Regions from separate parts of the Homo sapiens genome. Here region 1 is linked to region 2. The links are contacts of gene promoters, found by promoter capture Hi-C in human tissues and cell types (Jung and others, 2019). All regions are on one chromosome and are shown on one strand. The core of a region is centred on a gene start or on the middle of the fragment in contact, and the rest is flanking DNA. Distances in the headings are between cores, read along the strand shown. Region 1 holds the start of COA3 (cytochrome c oxidase assembly factor 3). Region 2 holds the start of NAGLU (N-acetyl-alpha-glucosaminidase).

Evidence for each region. Contacts are between HindIII fragments. The study calls those that stand out against the background at their distance.
Region 1: a contact is called between the fragment with the promoter of COA3 here and the fragment with the promoter of NAGLU in region 2, in 2 of the 25 tissues and cell types used here (bladder and mesenchymal stem cells).

What each region holds. Positions count from the first base shown.
Region 1 is chr17:42,796,394-42,803,314 of GRCh38, forward strand. It overlaps COA3 (cytochrome c oxidase assembly factor 3), which reads right to left and starts at 2,311. Exons shown (of 2, transcript NM_001040431.3): 1 at 2,075-2,311; 2 at 1,232-1,774. The coding sequence starts at 2,288. The coding sequence ends at 1,668. It overlaps CNTD1 (cyclin N-terminal domain containing 1), which reads left to right and starts at 2,468. Exons shown (of 7, transcript NM_173478.3): 1 at 2,468-2,843. The coding sequence starts at 2,675. WNK4 (WNK lysine deficient protein kinase 4) reads left to right here. Exons shown (of 19, transcript NM_032387.5): 18 at 88-185; 19 at 293-673. The coding sequence ends at 295. RefSeq lists enhancers at 1,994-2,063, 2,204-2,253, 2,274-2,323. The HindIII fragment of the contact is 12,523 bases long and covers 1-6,921 here.
Region 2 is chr17:42,530,777-42,537,490 of GRCh38, forward strand. NAGLU (N-acetyl-alpha-glucosaminidase) reads left to right here and starts at 5,465. Exons shown (of 6, transcript NM_000263.4): 1 at 5,465-5,879; 2 at 6,622-6,714. The coding sequence starts at 5,497. It also overlaps the pseudogene PTP4A2P1. RefSeq lists silencers at 1,354-1,503, 5,368-5,777, 5,898-5,967 and enhancers at 1,864-1,913, 5,178-5,257, 5,771-6,508. The HindIII fragment of the contact is 7,033 bases long and covers 1-6,555 here.

The sequences.
Region 1 (6,921 bases), core at 1,061-3,560, 260 kb after region 2:
CTGGGGGTCTGCCCCGGGGGAATAGACCCCCTCTCCCCACCTCCCCTTTCCTCACTTAGTGCTCTCCTTCCCCCATCCTGCTCCCAGGCATCATGCGAAGGAACTCTCTGAGTGGCAGCAGCACCGGCTCCCAGGAGCAGCGGGCAAGCAAGGGGGTGACATTCGCCGGGGATGTTGGCAGGATGGTGAGGGCGGGCCCAAGGGAGGGAGAGCCCAGGGAATGGTACCTGGCTGCAGCTTCGCCTTCCTCCCACCTTGGAGGTTTCTTCATCACTTTTTCTTTTCCCTCCAGTGAATTCAGAACAGAAGCCATGTATCTCCCCCACACCAGGGCCCACCATGGAGCTTGTGTTCTCAGAATCTGATGCTTTCTGATCAACAAAACTGAGCAAGGAAGATCCCAACACTGAAGGGGTAGAAGGCCAGGGGGGCATGGAGAGTGCAGCTCCATTATAGTGAAGAGCCAAACATATGTGAACTGTTTGCTGTGTGGAGGTGTTAGTTCTGCTGCCTACCATCTTCATCTCTAGCACCTCCCCTGCCAAGAGTCAACCACTAAGCAATCCCACCCAAGCCTGGATGCTTCTAGAGGGGCCCACTCCCAGCTGGGAGAGTGTAGGGGATATGCTCACACCACATTAGCAGCAACCAATAAAAATGCTGGAAACAAGAACGCCGTGAATCCATATGCCATGCCTTAGGAATTGGGGGAGCAAAGACTTGTGGGGTGAGGCAGGGGAGGATTTAAAAGGGACTTTCTTTTCACAATGGGAGGCAGGGGTGGAAGCTGCCCAGCCCTCTGGCTTCCTGCCATCAGTTAATGAGGAAACTGCAAGGTCAGTGATCCACTTGACTAAGTTAGGATCCCCTCCAGACCCCACCCTAGACCTGTATAGGCAGGTACCAGGGAAAGTTAAAAGAATGAAGACTGCTTGTCTTTCACCCTTCATCCACCTCTCTCTCCCTCCCTCTCTCTGGGGATGGGAAAAGCAGTAGAGTTACAGTATGTTCTTGTGGGTAGAGGACAGAAGAGTGACCTTCCTTCCCCTAAGACGTGGGTTCAGTCTCAAACTGCCCAGTGATCTCTCCCTTAAATCAGGTGGAAAGATCTCATGGAAAAAGTAATTCTAGTTAAACATTTACAGCTCCCTGGGGCAATGCCACCACTGCAGCTACTGCTTGTGAAGCTTTCCAGCATGAAGTGCCATATGCTGCCTCTCAGCCTCCATACTCACTTGACTCCAGGAGAATGACTCAGTTTATTATTCTCAATTTGACCCTATGTATCCCACTGTAGGCTCAAACACTGCACAGAGCTGCCACGTCTAACCTCGTAACAACTGCGTCCCTGGAAGGTGAAGGGGGTAAACCACAAAGTCAGAAACTTTGGGAAAAGCCACGGTCGCATGCACACCTCTCAAACAAGGAAACAAACTACAAGAAAGGGCTCAGTCATTGTACACAGCAAGTGTGCAGTGGGCAAAGTTCTGTTCTTTTGACATTGGCCAAATGCGTAAGTCCCTGGTTTCTTGGGCTCAATCACGGTCCAAGGTTAGTAAGAAGGCCAACAATGTTGTGAGCAGGATTCAATTTCTACAGGGTCATGGGGCATCATCCACCATGTGAAGGGGCTCCAGCAGGTTGGACATGATCAATACCCATCCAGATTAGGACCCTGACGCCCTTGCCAGAGCTCGGGCTCGGGCAGCTTTGGCCTCGTCTTCTAGCTCATCTAGGAAACGCTCCTGGGAAATCGAGTAGAAGGTGTAACCATCTGGGGAGGTAGGTTCAGGAAACCACACAGAATATGCACATTCCCCTTTCCTAGATTTGCTCTACCACTCTTGTTACTCTCCCAAATCAGTGATTCCGGCTTCCCGCCGCTGCTGTTTCTAAACCCTGAACCCCAATTCCGTTATTATTAATAAATCAAATTAAAAGAGTACCTTAGGAATAACAAAGGAAAGTACTACCCATTTTACCCCAAAATTAAACGGGTGGTTCAGCCCTCTTGCACACTCTGTTCCCCTGCCCCTATATGCGGTCCCCTTGAGTCTACAACACGGACGGATACAAATAGCCAACACCAGGGCCCCGATGCCTAGGCCGGTCACGATGTTCCGGGTTCGCCGCCGTGGTAGGACCTTCTGCCACTGGGCAAGCTCCGCCTGCCGCATGGAATGCAGTTGCTCGGGTGTCAGCTTCTCCCGAGTCGGGTCGATACGCTGAGCGAACGGGGCCTCTCCACGCTTAGAATCCAGAGGGTCACCAGCTCCCGAAGACGCCATGTTGCCACTCCTCCCTTCGCGGTGCCGCCGCGCGGGCCTCGCTGGGAACAGTAGCCCTTGGCCGCTGCAGTGGACTCTGGGAGTTGTAGTCCGCGTGCCCTTTGCGGGGCAGAGCCGCGGTTCCCGGGCACAGGGGATGGACGCGGGAGGTGAGAAGCGGACGTGCTTTCTGATTGGCTGAGGAGTCCGTGGCCGTTGGGGCGGGAAAAAGCTGTGGAGGGTTCGAGGCTGTGGTGGTAATTGGGTTTTCCTCAGACTTGAGGCGACGACACACTCATTGGAAGGGGACGAGGAATCCAGGGTGTGGCAGAAGACTGGAGAGGAGCTAAGGGGGTCGGTATGTGGATCCAGTGAACCCGTCCAGGTGCCCCAAGAGGCTCGTGAATATGGACGGACCCATGAGGCCACGATCGGCCTCCCTCGTTGACTTTCAGTTTGGAGTTGTCGCCACAGAGACGATTGAAGACGCCCTGCTTCACTTGGCCCAGCAGAATGAGCAAGCAGTGAGGGAGGCTTCGGGGCGGCTGGGCCGCTTCAGGGAGCCCCAGATCGTGGGTGCGGCTGCAGGGCCGGGGTGCTGGGTTCTTGGGAGACTGGGGCTTGTGTCTTTCAGGCACCGACCTTGAGATTCCGTTGATTTTATTCATTCAGAGAATGTTTGCTAACACCTCTCTGTGGGGTGCTGGGGATATAGTGATGGATAAGTCACAACAGTGCCCTCCCCTTGATTTCTTCGACATGTATGGAATACTTGAGTGGCACCGCTTGGCTAGAAAGATGAAATAGAGGGCCAGGCATGGTGGCTTACACCTGTAATCCCAGCACTTTGGGAGGCTGAGGTGGGAGGTTCACCTGAGGTCAGGAGTTCGAGACCAGCCTGACCAACATGGTGAAATCCTGTCTCTACTAAAAGTACAAAAATTAGCCAGGACTGGTGGCGCGCACCTCTAATCCCAGCTACTCGGGAGGTTGAGACAGGAGAACTGTTTGAACCCAGGAGGCGGAAGTTGCAGTGAGCCGAAATCGTGCCATTGCACTTCAGCCTAGACGACAAGAATGAAACTCCGTCTCAAAAAAAAAAAAAAAAAAAAAAAAAAAAAAAGGCTGGGCGCGGTGGCTCACGCCTGTAATCCCAGCATTTTGGGAGGCTGAGGCGGGCAGATCACGAGGTCAGGAGATCGAGACCATCCTGGCTAACATGGTGAAACCCCGTCTCTACTAAAAATACAAAAAAAAGCCGGGTGTGGTGGCGGGCGCCTGTAGTCCCAGCTACTCCGGAGGCTGAGGGAGGAGAATGGCATGAACCCGGGAGGCGGAGCTTGCAGTGAGCTGAGATGGCGCCACTACACTCCAGCCTGAGTGACGGGTGACAGAGCGAGACTCTGTCTAAAAAAAAAAAAAAAAAAAAAGAGAAAAGAAAGATGAAATAGAGATAGAGGTCTTGCCTTCAAACCATGTGCAATTTGGGGGAGATATTAGAACAAATATGCAATGACTAGGTACTATGGTTAGATAAGAGACGTCAGAGAGAAATAAAACAAGCGTTTATGGGGGTTGAGAGGAGCGATGGGGTAATAGGAAGAATTCAGGGGATGGCCCAGGCATCGGGACATTTCAGGCAGACCTTGAAGGAAGGAGGACATTGGGTTGGTGAAGGGGGAGGAAGGAGACAGTGTTTCTACCAAAAAGAGGTAGCATGAGTAAAGCTATGGAAATGGGGTGCTTAGGGTGCATGTGGGTACAGTGTAGTCCATGTTGGCCAGTGCATGTGGAAGAATAGTTGAAATTAATACTGGAAAGGTAGTTTGGAGACATTCCATGTGGAAGTTTGAATGCCAAGGGGAAGAGTTTATCCTTGGTTTGGTAGGAAACCAAGAAGACATTGAAGGTTTTTAAATAAGGGAGTGAAGGTTTTAAAATAAGGGATACGATGGTAACCCTGCCTTAGTAAACATTATTTTGGCAGTGATGTAAAGGAGGTAAAGGATGGATTAAACCAGAGGGAGATGGGATGTAGGCAGACAGGTAGAGTCAATGTCAGTAGGCTAGGTGATAGGGCAGAGGGAATAACAAGGGAGGGTGGATTAAAAACATTCTAGAGGCAAAGTCTAGGGTTCTGCTGTGGATAAATTTAGGAAGTGAAGGAGGAAAACGTGACTATGCTAAACGGTTGAGCCTGGAAGACTGGAAGTATAGTGGTCATTAAAAGAAACACACAGACACGGCCGGGCACGGTGGCTCACGCCTGTATTCCCAACACTTTGAGAGGCTGAGGCGGGTGGATCACGAGGTCAGGGGTTCGAGACCAGCCTGGCCAACATAGTGAAACCCTGTCTCTATTAAAAACACAAAAATTAGCTGGGCATGGTGGCAGGCACCTGTAGTCCCAGCTACTCGGGAGGCCGAGGCAGGGGAATGGCTTGAACCTGGGAGGCGGAGGTTGCAGTGAGCCAAGATTGTGCCACTGCGCTCCAGCCTAGGCCACAGAGCAAGACTCTGTCTCCCAAAAAAAAAAAAAACAACAACAAAAAAAAACAACACAAAAAACACAGACACACTACATAAATAAAGCAGGAGGAAAAGTGACTTTTGTTTGGGAAAGATAATAATGGCTTTGGAGCCTGGCCAACATGGTGAAACCCCATCTCTACTAAAAATACAAAAATTAGCCAGGCATGGTGGCAGGTACCTGTAATCCCAGCTACTTGGGAGGCTGAGGCAGGAGAATGGCTGGAACCCGGGAGGCAGAGGTTGCAGTGAGCCAAGATCACGCCATTGCATTCCAGCCTGGGTAACAGAGTGAGACCTTGTCTCAAAAAAAAAAAAAAAATATATATATATATATATATATATATATATATATATAATATATGTGTGTGTGTGTGTGTGTGTGTGTGTGTGTATAATAGCTTTAGTTTTGGATCTGCTGAGTTTAAGGTGTTTGCAGAACATCTAAAAGAAGTGTTCTTGTAGACTATTCAAAGAGTAGGTTAGAAGAGAGGTCAGAAATGGAGATCAAGGTTTTCAAGTTATCTTCACAATGATATTGTTGAAACTGTGGCAGAGGATAAGCTCCTAGAAGGAGAAAAGAAAAGCAGGTCAAGGACAGTTCCTTGGGAAAACACTTTGTGTTCAGGGAATTGGAGTAAGAAGACTTGTGAAGGAAATAAAAGGAGGAGATAGGAACAGAACCAAGGGACTTTTGGCAGCCAAGAGGAGACTTTGAAAAGGATAATGGTCAGAAGTTTCAGATGCTTTAGGGATATCAACAGAACTAAAGATTGCAAAAAGCCATGATATTTAACAATTTGGACATATTTACTGTCCTCTGAGAATCATTTCAGCAAGTTAGGAAAGGTAGAAGCCAACAGATAGAAAATTAGGAAGTGAACGATGAAGTGGAAGCAGTGGGTGTGTAAGCCAGGCTTTCAAGTAATTCAACAGCGAGGCTGAGATGGGAGGATTGCTTGAGCCCAGGAGTTTGAGACCAGCCTGGGCAACATAGGACAATCCCGTCTATTTATTATTTATTTATTTATTTATTTAAAAAAAAATTCAACAGTGATGGGAAAGAGAGAGGTTAAAAGGGGAGGGTCTTTTAGTTAATAGCAGATCTGAGTATGCTTGTTATCGAGGAGGTGGGGCCAATAGCAAGGGAAAGGTGTAACCCTCATCCATTCCACCTAATCCAAGCTCAGTTTTTTTGGCAAATTAAAATGGAAAACAGAAACAAATGCTCAGATAATTCAGAGCAAAACCAAACCAAAACTTAACAACTGCACACATACACAAAGAACAAAACTAAGAAATAAAGCCTAAAGTCCAGCAAATAAAATGACTAATAAGAGACACAATTATATGTTCTAGGGTATTATGCTGAATTGCTTAAACTAATTCTGTCCTGCATTGGACATTGCTAGCCAAACTGTAGCCTCTGTAACGATGAGGTTTTGTACATCTATCTATGTGTAATGTGTGTTGAGTAGATTGTTACTTGTGTAAGCTTGACTAAATTTTCTAAGAAAGTTAAGTTTTCTCTGAAGACATATGATTATTTGACTAAATGTGTAATTCTCTACGGATCAATGCTAAAAGGTCTTCAGTCTGTAGGAGCTTTCTTTGTTGAGAACTGACATTTACCCTTGTTTCCACCCTCTAATGATATTGCAAGATAAATATAATTCTATCTGGAGCTGTTCTTTCAAAGAGAAACAGAGGCAGGCTAAAATCTTGCCAAGGTATCTCACCCTTCCCACCTTCCCAATGACTCCCTCCCCCTAAATTGGGCTATGTTCTCCAATTTAGGGGATGTTTCTTCAAAACAAGCCACTTCACAGTAACACACTTGCTCCTGGGGAGAGGCTCAGCCACCACAGATTTACCCAGCAAACTGGTGGTGGAGAGATGGTGTCCAGCTGTAAGGTGACTTGTGTTTGTAAAGCAATGGGAGTTCTCCAGAGGGTGGTTACTAAACAAACAGTGTCATAAAGAATATCAAAGCTCCAGGAGGGATCTTTCTGTTCCTGCCAACATTCCACAGAAAACAGAATATAGGAGTTAGGGTTTTTATCCATCCAAGAATCTTCCTTGAAGCTGGGGGTTCCCAGCATGGTGTAGAGGTCACATAGACCAG
Region 2 (6,714 bases), core at 4,215-6,714:
TAGTCCCAGCTAGTTGGGATGCTGAGACAGGAGATGGCACCACTGCACTCCAGCCTGGGCAACAGAGCGAGACTCATCTCAAAAAAAAAAAAAAAAGGATCAAACAGTACTAAAGACCCTATTATAAAAGTCTTTCACTCACAGTGTCCCTGAATCTCCCCCTCCCTCCCACAACCACTGTTTACAGAGCCTTAAATAAACAGATGATAATGTGTTACCTTGCTCAGTCCCTGGCCTGGAGTGCTGTGGTGCCATCTGGACTCACTGCAGCCTTGACCTCCCAGACTCAAGCGAGCCTACCCTCTCAACCTCCTCAGTAGCTGGGACCACAGGCACATGCCATCATGCTGGGCTAATCTTTGTATTTTTTGTAGAGAAGGAGGGGTTTTGCCTTGTTGCCCAGGCTGGTCTTGGACTCCTAGATTCAAGTGATCTGCCTGCCTCAACCTCTTAGGATCAGGGGCCACTGCAATGGGCTAGACATTTTTTTTTTTGAGTCAGGGTCTTACTCTGTTGCCTGGCCTGGAGTGCAGTGGTGTGGTCATGGCTCACTGCAGCCTCAAACCCCTGGGTTCAAGCCGTCCTCCTGTCTCAGCCTCCTGAGGAGCTAGCTGGGACCACAAACACAGGCCACTGTGCCCAGATGATTTTTGTAGAGACAGGGTTTCTCCATGTTACCCAGGCTGGTCTCGAACTCCTGGACTTAAGCGCTCCACCTGCCTCGGCCTCCCTAAGTGCTGTGACTACGGGTGTGAGCCACCACATCTAGCACACCTAGTGCAGTCCTTCTGGAGAGTGGGCCACTCCCAGCCCCGGAGCAGCCTTACTCAAGCCCTCCCTGATCAGATAGGCAGCCTGACAAGTTGCACTGCCTGGGGAAGAGCAGCAAGAACCCTGCTCTGGAAGTTAAGAGTTCCCGGTTCTAGCCCAGAGCTGCTTTCCTTACTAGTTATTGATCTTGCCGAAGTCATTTCCTGTCTCTGGCTCTGTTTCCCAATCTGTAAAATTGTTACTGGAAAGGGGTCCCAATCTAGACCCTAAGAAAGGTGAGAGAGCGAACGGGCCCCGGAGACAAAAAGTTCTTATCTGAGCAATTTAGATAAGGAGCAATCTAAGGAGCAAAGACCACATGTTGACCATCAAACAGGCCATCTGGAGGCAAAACTTGTCTGGAGAATTTAGAAGTAATCCCAGCACTTTGGAAGGCTGAGGTAGATGGATCACTTAAGGTCAAGAGTTCGAGGGAGCGGCAGCGGCGGCCAGGCACGGCGCGAGGCGACGCCACAGGACAGCGGCGGCAGCAGGAAATGCAGCGGCGGCCGCAGCAGCAGCAAAACGGATCGGTGGAGAGGCGCCGCCGCCGCCGGGCCGGGCGTCGCGCGCCGAGGCTCGGGGGGAGTCGTCGCAGCCGCCGCCACCGCTACCGCAGCCGCCGCCGCCGCCGCCGCCCAGGTGACTGAGGAGAGAGGCACCTCCTCGCTCCCGCCGCCGCCGGACTTCAATGCCCAGTCCCCAGCTCGCCAGCGTTTTTCGTTGGAATATACGTTGCACATTTATGGCGATTCTGAATGTGAGAGCAGATTTCTGCCAGGCTGAGCACAGCGTTTTCGCTGACAAGTGAGCTTGGAGGTTCTATGTGCCATAATTAACATTGCCTTGAAGACTTCTGGACACCGAGACTGGCCTCAGAAATAGTTGGCTATTTATTTATTTATTTATTTATTTATTTATTTATTTATTTATTTATTTTGAGACGGCGTCTCGCTCTGTCGCCCAGGCTGGAGTGCAGTGGCGCGATCTCAGCTCACTGCAACCTCCGCTTCCTGGGTTCACGCCATTCTCCTGCCTCAGCCTCCTGAGCAGCTGGGACCACAGGCGCCCGCCACTACGCCCGGCTAATTTTTTGTATTTTTAGTAGAGACGGGGTTTCACCATGTTAGCCAAGATGGTCTCGATCTCCTGACCTCGTGATCCACCCGCCCTGGCCTCCCAAAGTGCTGGGATTACAGGCGTGAGCCACCGCACCCCGGCAGCTTTTTTTTTTTTTTTTTTTTTTTTTTTGAGAGAGAGTTTCCCTCTGTCGCCCAGGCTAGAGTGCAATGGCGCAATCTCGGCTCACTGCAAGCTCTGCCTCCCGGGTTCAGGCCATTCTCCTGCTTCAGCCTCCTGAGCAGCTGGGACTACAGACGCCCGTCACTGCGCCCGGCTAATTTTTTGTGTTTTTAGTAGAGACGGGGTTTCACCGTGTTAGCCAGGATGGTCTCGATTTCCTGACCTCGTGATCCGCCCGCCTCGGCCTCCCAAAGTGCTGGGATTACAGGCGTGAGCCACCGCGTCCGGCCAGCTTTTTTTTTTTAATTGCAAGCATATTTCTTTGAATGACTCCAGTAAAATTAAGCATCAAGTAAACAAGTGGAAAGTGACCTACACTTTTAACTTGTCTCACTAGTGCCTAAATGTAGTAAAGGCTGCTTCAGTTTTGTATGTAGTTGGGTTTTTTGGAGTCCGAAGGTATCCATCTGCAGAAATTGAGGCCCAAATTGAATTTGGATTCAAGTGGATTCTAAATACTTTGCTTATCTTGAAGAGAGAAGCTTCATAAGGAATAAACAAGTTGAATAGAGAAAACACTGATTGATAATAGGCATTTTCATGGTCTTTTTAATGTTTTCTGTTGTTAAACATTTCAAGATTTATTGATTTTTTTTTTCACTTTCCCCATCACACTCACAGGCACGCTCACACTTTTTATTTGCCGTAATGAACCGTCTAGCCCCTGTGGAGATCTCCTATGAGAACATGTGTTTTCTGATAACTCACAACCCTACCAATGCTACTCTCAACAAGTTCACAGAGGAACTTAAGAAGTATGGAGTGACGACTTCGGTTTGAGTTTGTGATGCTACATATGATAAAGCTCCAGTTGAAAAAGAAGGAATCCACGTTCTAGATTGGCCATTTGATGATGGAGCTCCATCCCCTAATCAGATAGTAGATGATTGGTTAAACCTGTTAAACACCAAATTTCGTGAAGAGCCAGGTTGCTGTGTTGCAGTGCATTGCGTTGTGGAATTGGGAAGGGCACCTGTGCTGGTTGCACTTGCTTTGATTGAATGTGGAATGAAGTACGTAGATGCAGTTCAGTTTATAAGACAAAAAAGAAGGGGAGTGTTAAATTCCAAACAGCTGCTTTACTTAAGATGCGATTACGCTTCAGAGATACCAATGGGCATTGCTGTGTTCAGCAGAAAGAAATGTAAATGAAGGCTGACTTGATTGTGGCATTTAGAGGGAACTCCTGGTACCTGGAAATGTGAATCTGGACTCTTACCTGTGTCATCAAAGTAGTGATGGATTCAATACTCCTCAACCACTCTCCTAATGATCAGAACAAAAGCAAACAAGAAATCTCTCTATAAAATGAATAAAATGTTTAAGAAAAAAAAAGAGTTCGAGACCAGCCTGGACAACATGGTGAAATCCCATCCCTACAAAGGTTAACTGGGCTTGGTGGCACGTGCCTGTAATCCCAGCTACTCAGGAGACTGAGACAGGAGAATGGCTTGAACCTGGGTGGCTGAGGTTCCCGTGAGCTGAGATTAAAAAAAAAAATCATACTTCCCTAGTATCTAAAGTTGATATCTGATTCCAGGCCTCTTTCAACTTTTTTTGTTTGTTTGTTTGTTTTTTTGATATGGAGTCTCGCTCTGTCATCCAGGCTGGAATGCAAATGGCACGATCTTGGCTCACTGCAACTTCCACCTCCAGCGTTCAAGCGATTCTCCTGCCTCAGCTTCCCAAGTAGCTGGGACTACAGGCGTGTGCCACCAAGCCTGGCTAACTTTTTTTCTTTTTTTTTTTTTTGAGAGGGAGTCTTGCTCTGTCCCCCAGGCTGGAGTGCAGTGGTGTGATCTTGGCTCACTGCAACCTCCGCCTCTCCGGTTCACGCCATTCTCCTGCCTTAGCCTCCCGAGTAGCTGGGAGTACAGGCGCTCGCCAACACGCCCGGCTAATTTTTTGTATTTTTAGTAGAGATGGAGTTTCACCGTGTTAGCCAGGAGGGTCTTGATCTCCTGACCTCGTATCCGCCCGTCTTGGCCTCCCAAAGTGCTGGGATTACAGGCGTGAGCCACCGCGCCCAGCACCTGGCTAACTTTTGTATTTTTAGTACAGACGGGGTTTCACTGTATGTTGGCCAGGCTGGTCTCAAACCCCTGACTTGAGGTGATCTGCAAGCCTCAGCCTCCCAGAGTGCTGGGATTACAGGCGTAAGCCACCGCTCCTGGCCTAAGGTTGGCTATTTTTATGGTTATTTCTTGATTATATGATAAACAAGGGGTGGGTTAGTAATGAATTTTTCAGAAAAGGGGTGGGGATCCCCCCCAACTGAAGGTTCCTCCACTGTTTAGACCATATAGGGTAACTTCTGGACGTTGCCATGGCATTTGTAAACTGCCTGGCGCTGCTAGGAGTGTCTTTAGCATACTAATGCATTATAATTAGCGTATAATGAGCAGTGAGGACGATCAGAGGTCACCTTCCTGTCTTGGTTTTGGCAGGTTTTGACCAGTTTCTTTGCTGCATTCTGTTTTATCAGCGGGGTCTTGTGACCTTTTATCTTGTGCTGACCTCCTGTCTCATCCTGTGACGAAGGCCTAACCTCCTGGGAATTCAGCCCAGCAGGTCTCTGCCTCATTTTACCCAGCCCCTGTTCAAGATGGAGTCGCTCTGGTTGGAAACTTCTGACAAAATGACAGCTCCTGTTATGTTGCTGCTGCTGCCGCCAATGGACAGCCTTTAACGTGCCCGCCAGCCCTGCTCCACCGCCGGCCTGGGCTCACATGGCCCCATCCCTCCTCGAACCTCCTAGCCTGTTAGTTACTCAAATCTGCAAGCTCTCTGCCTTCTCAGGGCCTTCAATAAATGCATTTCTTCTGTCTGGAAGGCTCTTCCTTTCCCTCTTCTAGCCAATTCCTATTCATCCCTGAGTTTCAGATTAAAAGTCACTTCCTTTGGAAACCTTACTTCGCTACTTCGCTACTTACTGCACTACTTCGCAGCATCACAACTATGATGGAAATCCTTACTTACGTTAAATATCTGGTTTCTAGGTCACCTCCCTGACGGGGACGGTAGGGACCGTCTTCTCGTTCATCAGTAGGGAAGTAGCTATGGCAGTGCCTGATACAAAATAAACTCCAAATGTGTATTTATTAGATGGTTGGATGGAAGTTATTTGCGTGTGAAAGCGCGTTTTACCCGAAGGCGCTCTGTGAGGGCCAGCGGGTCCCCTTCGGCCCTGGAGCCGGGGTCACACGCTCCCCACCGCGTGCGGTCACGAGACGCCCCCAAGGGAGTATCCTGGTACCCGGAAGCCGCGACTCCTGGCCCTGAGCCCGGGCTTAGCCTTCGGGTCCACGTGGCCGGAGGCCGGCAGCTGATTGGACGCGGGCCGCCCCACCCCCTGGCCGTCGCGGGACCCGCAGGACTGAGACCATGGAGGCGGTGGCGGTGGCCGCGGCGGTGGGGGTCCTTCTCCTGGCCGGGGCCGGGGGCGCGGCAGGCGACGAGGCCCGGGAGGCGGCGGCCGTGCGGGCGCTCGTGGCCCGGCTGCTGGGGCCAGGCCCCGCGGCCGACTTCTCCGTGTCGGTGGAGCGCGCTCTGGCTGCCAAGCCGGGCTTGGACACCTACAGCCTGGGCGGCGGCGGCGCGGCGCGCGTGCGGGTGCGCGGCTCCACGGGCGTGGCGGCCGCCGCGGGGCTGCACCGCTACCTGCGCGACTTCTGTGGCTGCCACGTGGCCTGGTCCGGCTCTCAGCTGCGCCTGCCGCGGCCACTGCCAGCCGTGCCGGGGGAGCTGACCGAGGCCACGCCCAACAGGTACCGCCCCGAAGCTTCCCCGCGTCCGCCCGAGGCGCTTACCCCCTCCCGGAGCCGCTGCCACCCAAATCGGGAGGCTGAGCGGGGAGCGCTGGCCGGAAGGCCCAGCTGCGCCGCCTCCAGCAGCTGTGTGGCCTTGAGCCAGCCACTCTGCCTTTCAGAGCCTCGGCTGGCCCACCTGAAAAACGGAAAGAAGACGCCTACCGTGCAGTGTTATTGTGAGGATTTGCACGATGATGGGCATAGAATTTGTGGTGCACAATTGGTGATGAGTGAATTTTCTTGCCTTCCTCCCCCACCTTCTCTTTGAACCTGCGGACTGAGGAAGGACGCCTCCATCCCCCACCCTACAGGCCTGTGTTCCAGCGCCTGCCACACTATGGAGTGATGTGTTCACACAGCTGTCCTCCCCTGCCCATCTGTTAGACTGTGGGGGCAGGGATTCCCCGTTCCAGGAAAACACCGTGCAGAGGAGGGGCTCTGGCAGTGTGGCATGAAAGTGGAATATGCCACCCAAATACCCGCCAGGCTAGAGGGCCCTGGGAGAGTGCAGGGGACGAGTGCCTCAGAAGCCCAGCCCCGGTACCTGGTCTCAGCTCCACCTGGGGTGGGTCCCAGTGTGCAGCAGAAGGGCCGAGTTTGGAGCCCCTCCCCTCTCCTCTAGGTGGGGGATGGGGGATTTGTTCCAGGGCCGTGGACCCTCCAGGGTGGGATGCGCCCCTGCTCATGACACTGCCCGCAGGTACCGCTATTACCAGAATGTGTGCACGCAAAGCTACTCTTTCGTGTGGTGGGACTGGGCCCGCTGGGAGCGAGAGATAGACTGGATGGCGCT